Regions from separate parts of the Homo sapiens genome. Here regions 1 and 2 are each linked to region 3. Evidence: promoter capture Hi-C in 16 types of primary human blood cells and fetal thymus (Javierre and others, 2016). All regions are on one chromosome and are shown on one strand. The core of a region is centred on a gene start or on the middle of the fragment in contact, and the rest is flanking DNA. Distances in the headings are between cores, read along the strand shown.

Region 1 (2,700 bases), core at 150-2,649, 280 kb before region 3:
GGAGCTTGCTGTCGATATTCTTGCCGTAAGACTTGACGTAGAGGTGCAGGGGCAGCGTCTCGTTGGCATCGTGGGACAGCTGGGGGACACGCAGGGGCACACTGCACTTCCTGCCCCCACAGAGGGGCGTGGGGCGGGGGTCACAAGGGCAGCCTCCCTGTGGCCACCGGGTCCCTTCCCAGCCAAGGGCAGCAGGGGAGGCCTTCAGGTGTCGGAAGTTCGGGAACCCCATGGACGCTGCTCTGTGCCACTCTGTCCCCAGGGAGGCAGAGGGCAGAGGGGGCTTCCCCAGCAGCACAGGGCATGGCGAGCCCCTGGCTGGGCTCTGGTCCCTGGGGTCTCCCTGCTGCCCCTCCCCTCACAGTCCTGAAGGTGACCCCCCACCCCACCCGGGGCCCTGGGGTCCAGCAGCCGAGCCGGCCTGCCCTGGAGCCGTACCTTTGGGGTCCGAAAGGCGAAGGTCCCAGATTCCTGCATGGTCACCGGCTCCATGAACTTGAGCAAGTCACTGCCCACGTGCAGGGAGGAACCCTGCAGACCATGCCGTCAGGACCCTGGACAGGCGGCTGTGGCACCCTGGCCCTCCTCCCAGAACCCCTGCAGCCCCTCCTCTGTGCCTACAGTGTGGGAGCCCTCTCCTCACCCCACACATGCCCGCCCCTCAGATTACCATGCCAGCTGACCCCTCGGCCACTCCTGAGCCCAAACACCTGTGTCTGCAGAAGCCTCTGAACGTCCTCTGTGGGTTTCCCACGGCCACCTCCACCACTCATCCACACCTGAGAACATCGCCCGGCCCACCTGACATCGTGGCCCCCACAGCTCCCTCCTCAGGAGGTGGCACTGGCCCCTCAATCTCCACACGCCTGCCTCCTCCACTGCCTCTCTTCAGGCCCATCCAAAGGCCCCCGAGTGCTGCCTCCTGGCCTCTGTCCCCGATAAATCCTGTGCCCTCTACCTCATGTGGGGGCCCCGAGTCGGGGGGCACGGGTGGAGCTCAGGCTTCCCACACACCCATCAGCACTGGCCGGCACCCCTCCCTCCGTACCTTAGCCTGCCTGTCACCAACCGGCACCCCCTCCCTCCGCACCTGAGCCTGCCTGTCACCGGCCGGCACCCCTCCCTCCGCACCTGAGCCTGCCTGTCACCAACCGGCACCCCCTCCCTCCGCACCTGAGCCTGCCTGTCACCGGCCGGCACCCCTCCCTCCGCACCTGAGCCTGCCTGTCACCGGCCGGCACCCCTCCCTCCGCACCTGAGCCTGCCTGTCACCGGCCGGCACCCCCTCCCTCCGCACCTGAGCCTGCCTGTCACCAACCGGCACCCCCTCCCTCCGTACCTGAGCCTGCCTGTCACCGGCCGGCACCCCTCCCTCCGCACCTGAGCCTGCCTGTCACCGGCCGGCACCCCTCCCTCCGCACCTGAGCCTGCCTGTCACAGCCGGCACCCCTCCCTCCGCACCTGAGCCTGCCTGTCACCGGCCGGCACCCCTCCCTCCGCACCTGAGCCTGCCTGTCACAGCCGGCACCCCTCCCTCCGCACCTGAGCCTGCCTGTCACCGGCCGGCACCCCTCCCTCCGTACCTGAGCCTGCCTGTCACCGGCCGGCACCCCTCCCTCCGCACCTGAGCCTGCCTGTCACCAGCCGGCACCCCTCCCTCCGCACCTTCACGGTGTCCAGGTTCTTGCCCTGGAAGTTCACATCTGTCTCGTGGTTCATGGGGATCACCAGGGGGCTGGGTCCCAGGAACTGGGGACAGCTGTCCTCCTGGGAGAGTAAGGCTGGTCAGGTGCTGCCTGGGCACAGCGGAGCAGCCATGCCCTGAACAGTCCCCTGAGGCCCCGAGGCCCCTCACCATGTGGGCACGGACGATGCCGTCCTCAGGGTTGGGCGAAGCCTCCCGGCACTCGTGGTAGCGCAGGTCCCACTGGCAGGTCCAGCGGTTGCTCACGCAGGAGATGCACCTGCATCCAGAGGGGATCGTGAGCAGGGCTGGGGTGGACGGGCAGGGTGGGGTCGATGGGCACAAGACACTCACGGCAGGTTCTCCTCCAGGCTCATGGCCTGGCGGCAGTCGTAGAAGGGGTACTGGTAGGACGTGAGGAAGATGTTGCCTCGTCTAAGGAGGAGCTGGATGGTCACGGCCACGTGGTCTGCAGACAGCAGAGGGGGAGGTGTCAAGGTGGCGGCCGCAGGGCCGAGGGCCAGGCTGGGCCTCCCCTGGGGCTGACTCCTGGGGCCAAGGTGGAGACCCCTGGTCTTCAGGGGGCCCTGCCAGGACGCCCCGCATTCATGTTGGGCGGGGCCTGCCACCTGCTATCAGATCTCGGGTGGGGCTGCCAGGACGCCCGTTCACGCTGGGCTGGACCTGCCACCTGCTATCAGATCTTGGTTCGGGTGTCGGGCGCAGCACCGGGCTTGCCTTTCTCCCCCGGGTCCAGGTTGCTTTCATACCCTCTGTTCCCGCAGGCACTGAGGGCAGCGGCTCCTTGGAGTCTGAGTGGGACCTGCCAGGTCCCTGCCCACGTCACTGCGTGGCCCCACTGCCCCCAAAACTCAGGGGACATGGGCGCGACGCCTGCCCTGGCCCACATGCGAGGCCCTGCAGCCTCTGGGAACGGCCCTGCTCTCTGAAGCTGGACATGGCAGGAAGGGGTGAGGGGCGTCTGCCGAGACGACGGGGCCTGGCGCCTGGCACCC
Region 2 (2,700 bases), core at 169-2,668, 420 kb before region 3:
GGATTATGTGTTATATTTGTGGCTCTAGAGTTGATAAAACATGGACTGAATTGATAAGGAAGTATGAGATATTTTGAGAAAAAAACCTTAAATCATGACTTAGACGTAACTAAGAAGTGGTACCAGGGCAAGGTTCCCTTTTGGAATTCTGCTTAATAATTGGAGGAGTAAACTAACTCTACGCCTCCTTGCCCCCAGATAGTTATTGACGCCGTCAAACCGTATTGCAGAGACGGAGAAGACATCTGGAAAGCCTCACGCTTCCGGATAATCATCACCACATGCAGCAGCTCAGGGCTGTTTTACCAAATAGGAGTGAGGTGAGCCCCGGGCATGGAGCGCGGCATGGGGCCTCCCAGGGCAGAGGTCGGAGTCCTCTCCTAGCTTCTGTCTGAGGGGCGGATGACCCAGAGACTCAGTGCTCAGGGAGGGAGGCAGGGCTGTGGGCGAGAAAGGCTGGTTGGGGAGGGCCGTGCCTGAATGGAGCTGGGGAAGCCGAGACCCCAAGGACTCGAAGGAGCCAGCAGTGGGATGGGCAGGCAGATGGACTGGCCCATGCAGAGGCCCCGCGGTGGGGGAGCACTGAGGTCTCCCCAAAGGAGACTGTAGAGCCAGAGCCTCGTGAGCAGGAACGGCCTGAAAGGGGTGGTGAGGGGGAGGCCTGGCGGGCTGTGGAGGGGCCTTTGGACGACCTCTGGTGAGCCGGGAAGCCAGTGAAGGGCTTCTGAGCAGGAGAGTGAGTCTCTTGGAGTGGGCGTGGGGAGGCAGGCTGCCTAGGAAACGGCTGGGCTCTGTAAGGTCAGACCCTGGGGGCCATTTGTGTCCCTGGCGCTGGGGGCTCTTCAGGGGAGACAGGCGGAGGAGATGGATTGTGGGGTGCCGGCTGTCATAGGAGGACCTCCCCTGGGGGCTGGGAGGAAGAGCTTCGAGCCCAGGGAGGCTGAGTGAGGACCAAGGCACTCTCAGACCCCAGTGCAGGGGGGTGGGGTCGGGGAGGCAGCAGGCAGCTCCCTCTCAGTGCATAGAGCCAGACAGTGTCGGGGGCACAGGCTGAGGGTGAGAGAGGGAGAAGCCAGGGCCTCTGAGGGAAGCCCCACCCTCCCTGACGGCCTGGAGACAGGTCGCTCTGAACAGTGTCCAGCGTCACAGTGGTCGTGACCCTCCCTGACAGCCTGGAGACAGGTCACCCTGGACAGTGTCCAGCGTCACGGTGGTCGTGAGGGTGACCACAGGAGGTGGTCCGTCAGCTCCACATGGAGCAAAGGCACAGCCAGCCACGCCTATCACAGCGTGTCACGGATGGTTTCATCGGCGCGTTTAACTCTCTCACATACATGATGTCCTTTCATCATGAGATTAGTAGAACGTGATTGATGAGACACTTTACATTTTTTTTGGTTCAAGTCTTCAAAATCCACCATGTATTTTACACTTAGAGCATGTCAGGTTTCAGACTAGCCACTGTGCGGTGCCCGAGAGCCGTGTGTGGCTACCGGATTGGACAGCACGGATCTGAACAAGACAGGGATTTTTTTTGTTAATGTGTGTTGATGAGTCAAAGGTCAAGAGCCGAAGAGCCAGTCCTCACTGGGGTGCAGAGGGCTCTTTGGGGGCAGAGCGGGCACTGCATGGACCCTGCACCCTGGAGCTGATGTTCAGGTAGTGGGAGGAGGTGGCCGGCCAGGGCAGGCCGCTCTCTCAGAGGCACTCTGTGCAGAAGCAGGGAGGGTGCTGCAGGCCGCTCTCTCAGAGGCGCTCTGTGCAGAAGCAGGGAGGGTGCTGCAGGCCGCTCTCTCAGAGGCGCTCTGTGCAGAAGCAGGGAGGGTGCTGCAGGCCGCTCTCTCAGAGGCGCTCTGTGCAGAAGCAGGGAGGGTGCTGCAGGCCGCTCTCTCAGAGGCGCTCTGTGCAGAAGCAGGGAGGGTGCTGCAGGCCGCTCTCTCAGAGGCGCTCTGTGCAGAAGCAGGGAGGGTGCTGCAGGCCGCTCTCTCAGAGGCGCTCTGTGCAGAAGCAGGGAGGGTGCTGCAGGCCGCTCTCTCAGAGGCGCTCTGTGCAGAAGCAGGGAGGGTGCTGCAGGCCGCTCTCTCAGAGGCGCTCTGTGCAGAAGCAGGGAGGGTGCTGCAGCCCAGCTGCAGAGGCCCCACAGCGTTAGTTGGCCACTGGGGGCGGCTGGAGTGGGGAGGGGCACTTCAAAGGGCAAAGAAGTAGCAATGTCATCTGGCAAAAGTGACATTAAATAACTGCAATTAATACAGAATTGAAACCTAAATACTTACATTCTAGGAAAGATACATAATGTTAATTTTTTTCAACAGAAATAGGGACATGAGATGGGGAAATGGCAGTTTGCTGATTTCCACATCTTTCACTGGGAGGGGTTCACGGTGTCACTTGTGAAATCCGTGTCTTGAGAGTTACACATTGATACCTGAAGTGAAAGGTGTCAGCTGACCGTGAGTGGATGCAGGACATGTTGGGCCCAGCACTGCTGTAAGCAGGAGCCCGCCCCCGCACAGGTCTGACCACAGGGTCTCACCCCACAGTGGGACACCTGAGGCTCAGAGGTGATGGATTTGCCCAGCATCTAGGGTTGGAGAGGGGAGATCCTGGAATCAGCAGTGAGAAGGGTAAACGTGGGCTCGGCAGTGAGGACGGTGCGGGCCCAAGGTGCGTCCTGTTGAGTGTTGGCGTGGCTCCGGACAC
Region 3 (2,700 bases), core at 6-2,505:
GGTACGAAGAGTTTCTAACAGAGTCTGGGATCCCTCTGAGAACAAGGAATGTGAGGGGATAAGAGGGATGCTTGGTGCAGAGATGTGCTCTTTTGTACGGGATGAGAGCAGCACAGGAAGGGAATGCACCTGTGATGTGGGAGAGAAGTCTTGGAGTTGGGCTATGAAGAGTCTGGGCGGGTCCTGAAGTGCAGGTGGAGGAAGCCAGAGGTGCGTGTGGGAACTTGGGGTGTGAGGTGGTGTGTGGACTCCGGGGTCCCAGGTGTGGCAGGTGTGAGGGTAAGAGGGGCAGGCTGCACGGAATGAGAAGCCCAGGGTGTGCAGACTTCAGGATCAGGAGTGTATGGTGTGAGGACATGGAGATTAGGTTAAGGGGGTGAAGGACTGAGGTGAGGGATGTAAGGTGGGGAGAGTGGGGTATGGAGTGTGCAGTGAGGGGAGCGGGGGAGGGGTGAGGCGGGGTGAGGCGGGGTGAGGAGGGGTGAGGGGTGAGGCGGGGTGAGGGGTGAGGCGGGGTGAGGGGTGAGGCTGGGTGAGGAGGCGGGTGAACGGTGACGTGAGCGATGAGGGGTGAGGGGCGAGGCGGGTGAGGCGGGGTAAGGAGGGGTGAGGCGGGGTGAGGGGTGAAGGGTGAGGCGGGGTGAGGGGTGAAGGGTGAGGCGGGGTGAGGGGTGAGGGGTGAGGCGGGGTGAGGGGTGAAGGGTGAGGCGGGGTGAGGGGTGAAGGGTGAGGCGGGGTGAGGGGTGAGGCGGGGTGAGGGGTGAGGCGGGGTGAGGGGTGAGGGGTGAGGCGGGGTGAGGAGGGGTGAGGGGTGAGGGGCGAGGCGGGTGAGGCGGGGTGAGGAGGGGTGAGGGGTGAGGCGGGATGAGGGGTGAGGGGTGAGGCGGGATGAGGGGTGAGGGGTGAGGCGGGGTGAGGGGTGAGGCGGGGTGAGGGGTGAGGGGCGAGGCTGGGTGAGGAGGCGGGTGAGCGGTGACGTGAGCGATGAGGGGTGAAGGGTGAGGCGGGGTGAGGGGCGTCGGGGGAGGGGCATGGGGTGTGGAGTGAGTGGAGTCGGGTGAGTGGAGTTGGGTCGAAGTCAAGGGTCTGGCTTGAGGTTGGTGCCACCGCGAACGCTAGGACAGGGTCAGGCGGAGCCCAGCCGTCAGGGCGCGTTGGGAGGGCCGGGGCCCAGGGGGGCGCGGCCTCGCTCACCTCCAGCTTGGCCCGCGCTCCGGTCCTGCTCTGGCGCCCCCAGCGGCCGCTTGAGGAACAAGGCCGCTCCTCGAGAGGGATGCCCCGCCCTTTCCGTTAGCGAACCCTCCCCGGAAGTGACCTCTCGCCCTCATTGGGTGTCCTCGGGAAAAGGGGCGGGGCATTCCGCGCTGCTCCCACAGGTCTGCGGCGTCCGAGTCTGGGACTGGCAGGTGCGGTGCTGGGGACGTCCTGAGGTTGAGGGAGAATCCTGCGGAGATGAAGAGCTTCCCGGCCTGACAGTTTTGCCCCCACCTCCTTCTTGAGCTTAAGGATTTATACGCAGGGCCCCGTTTGCCTGCTGTGTCCCCAGTGTCCAGGACAGCGCCCGGTACCAAAGGTGCTGGTAAACATTTGTCGAATGAGTCGCTGAACGCCCAGCTATTTCCACTGTCACAGCGATCATGTGTGGCGGACATTATGTGGCATGTATCTTACAGAGGAGGCAGCCCGGGCTCAGGGAGACGAGGCAGAGGTGCACGCAGGTCTATGTGGGCTGGAAAGTGCTGGGGCCTCCCGGGCGCTCCTGGTCTCCAGGCAAGAACTGGAAGCAGAGCCACTCAACACCTAGAAGGGCAGTGACAGAAAGCTCTGGCTGGGAGGAGGCTGACCAGAGGCCAGTCTGAGCTCAGCCTTTTTTTTCAGAGGGACGTGGGCACCCTAGAAGGGTGGTAAGTAGGCGAGTGGCAGAGTTAAAAGGTCTCTGGCTGCCGAGGCGGGTGGCGACGGGGCCGGCCGTTGCTGTTGTTTGGCTGAGTGGTGGACAGGGTCAAAGCCATTCCAAGGTCGACTTGACAGGGCTTGGTAATGTGGGAGGGAGGGAGAAAGAAGCAAGGGGCTAATGGCCGGGGTGATACCACTGGCAGAGATGTGGAAGAGTGGGAGAAGCTAGCTTGGAAGGTTAACTTTGATTTTGAACACCTTGTGTTTGAGAATCCTGACAAACCTTAGACCCCCTGAATTTTCTCTCAGGGATTCTGATTCTTAGCAGCCTGATTGCAGAGGAGGAAAAATGGCTGGGGTTGAGCCAGACAGTTCTGGGCAAGGAGTGAGCATTCGCTTGTTTATTGAGGAGGCTGCTGCCTGGGCCACACTCCCTCCGCCAGCTGCCAGGTTCCTGCCCCGGTTGAACCCGGTTTTCTGGCCATCCCTTTCCACCTGTGAGCTGCTCTTCATACTTCCATTTGCTTATACAGCCCAGAGCCGATTTCTGTTACAGCAGCCCAGAGAAACATGAATAGGGAATAATTCTTTTTTTTTTTTTTTGAGACGGAGTCTTGCTCTGTTGCCCAGGCTGGAGTGCAGTGGCACGATCTCGGCTCACTGCAACCTCCGCCTCCCAGGTTCAAGTGATTCTCCTGCCTCAGCCTCCCTAGTAGCTGGGATTACAAGCACATGCCACAACGCCCAGCTAGTTTTTGTATTTTTAGTAGAGACCGGGTTTCGCTATGTTGGCCAGGCTGGTCT

What was found. The method cuts DNA at HindIII sites, captures the fragments that hold promoters and counts their contacts. A CHiCAGO score of 5 or more calls a contact.
Region 1: a fragment that was not itself captured here is called in contact with the fragment with the promoter of SYCE3 in region 3 in 1 of 17 cell types (monocytes); the score reaches 5.0 in monocytes.
Region 2: a contact is called between a fragment that was not itself captured here and the fragment with the promoter of SYCE3 in region 3, in 1 of 17 cell types (monocytes). The highest score is 5.1, in monocytes.

What each region holds. Positions count from the first base shown.
Region 1 is chr22:50,284,135-50,286,834 of GRCh38, forward strand. PLXNB2 (plexin B2) reads right to left here. Exons shown (of 37, transcript NM_012401.4): 9 at 2,039-2,153; 10 at 1,856-1,964; 11 at 1,666-1,767; 12 at 439-531; 13 at 1-79. Among named protein-coding and RNA genes, the nearest start is that of MAPK11, 15 kb to the left of the region's middle. The HindIII fragment of the contact is 5,633 bases long and covers 1-2,700 here.
Region 2 is chr22:50,145,491-50,148,190 of GRCh38, forward strand. It overlaps MOV10L1 (Mov10 like RNA helicase 1), which reads left to right. Exons shown (of 27, transcript NM_018995.3): 19 at 199-320. Among named protein-coding and RNA genes, the nearest start is that of PANX2, 24 kb to the right of the region's middle. The HindIII fragment of the contact is 7,030 bases long and covers 1-2,700 here.
Region 3 is chr22:50,561,664-50,564,363 of GRCh38, forward strand. SYCE3 (synaptonemal complex central element protein 3) reads right to left here and starts at 1,256. Exons shown (of 3, transcript NM_001123225.3): 1 at 1,195-1,256. It overlaps LOC107985568 (a long non-coding RNA gene), which reads left to right and starts at 1,298. Exons shown (of 2, transcript XR_001755606.3): 1 at 1,298-1,904. RefSeq lists a silencer at 948-1,357. The HindIII fragment of the contact is 5,765 bases long and covers 1-2,700 here.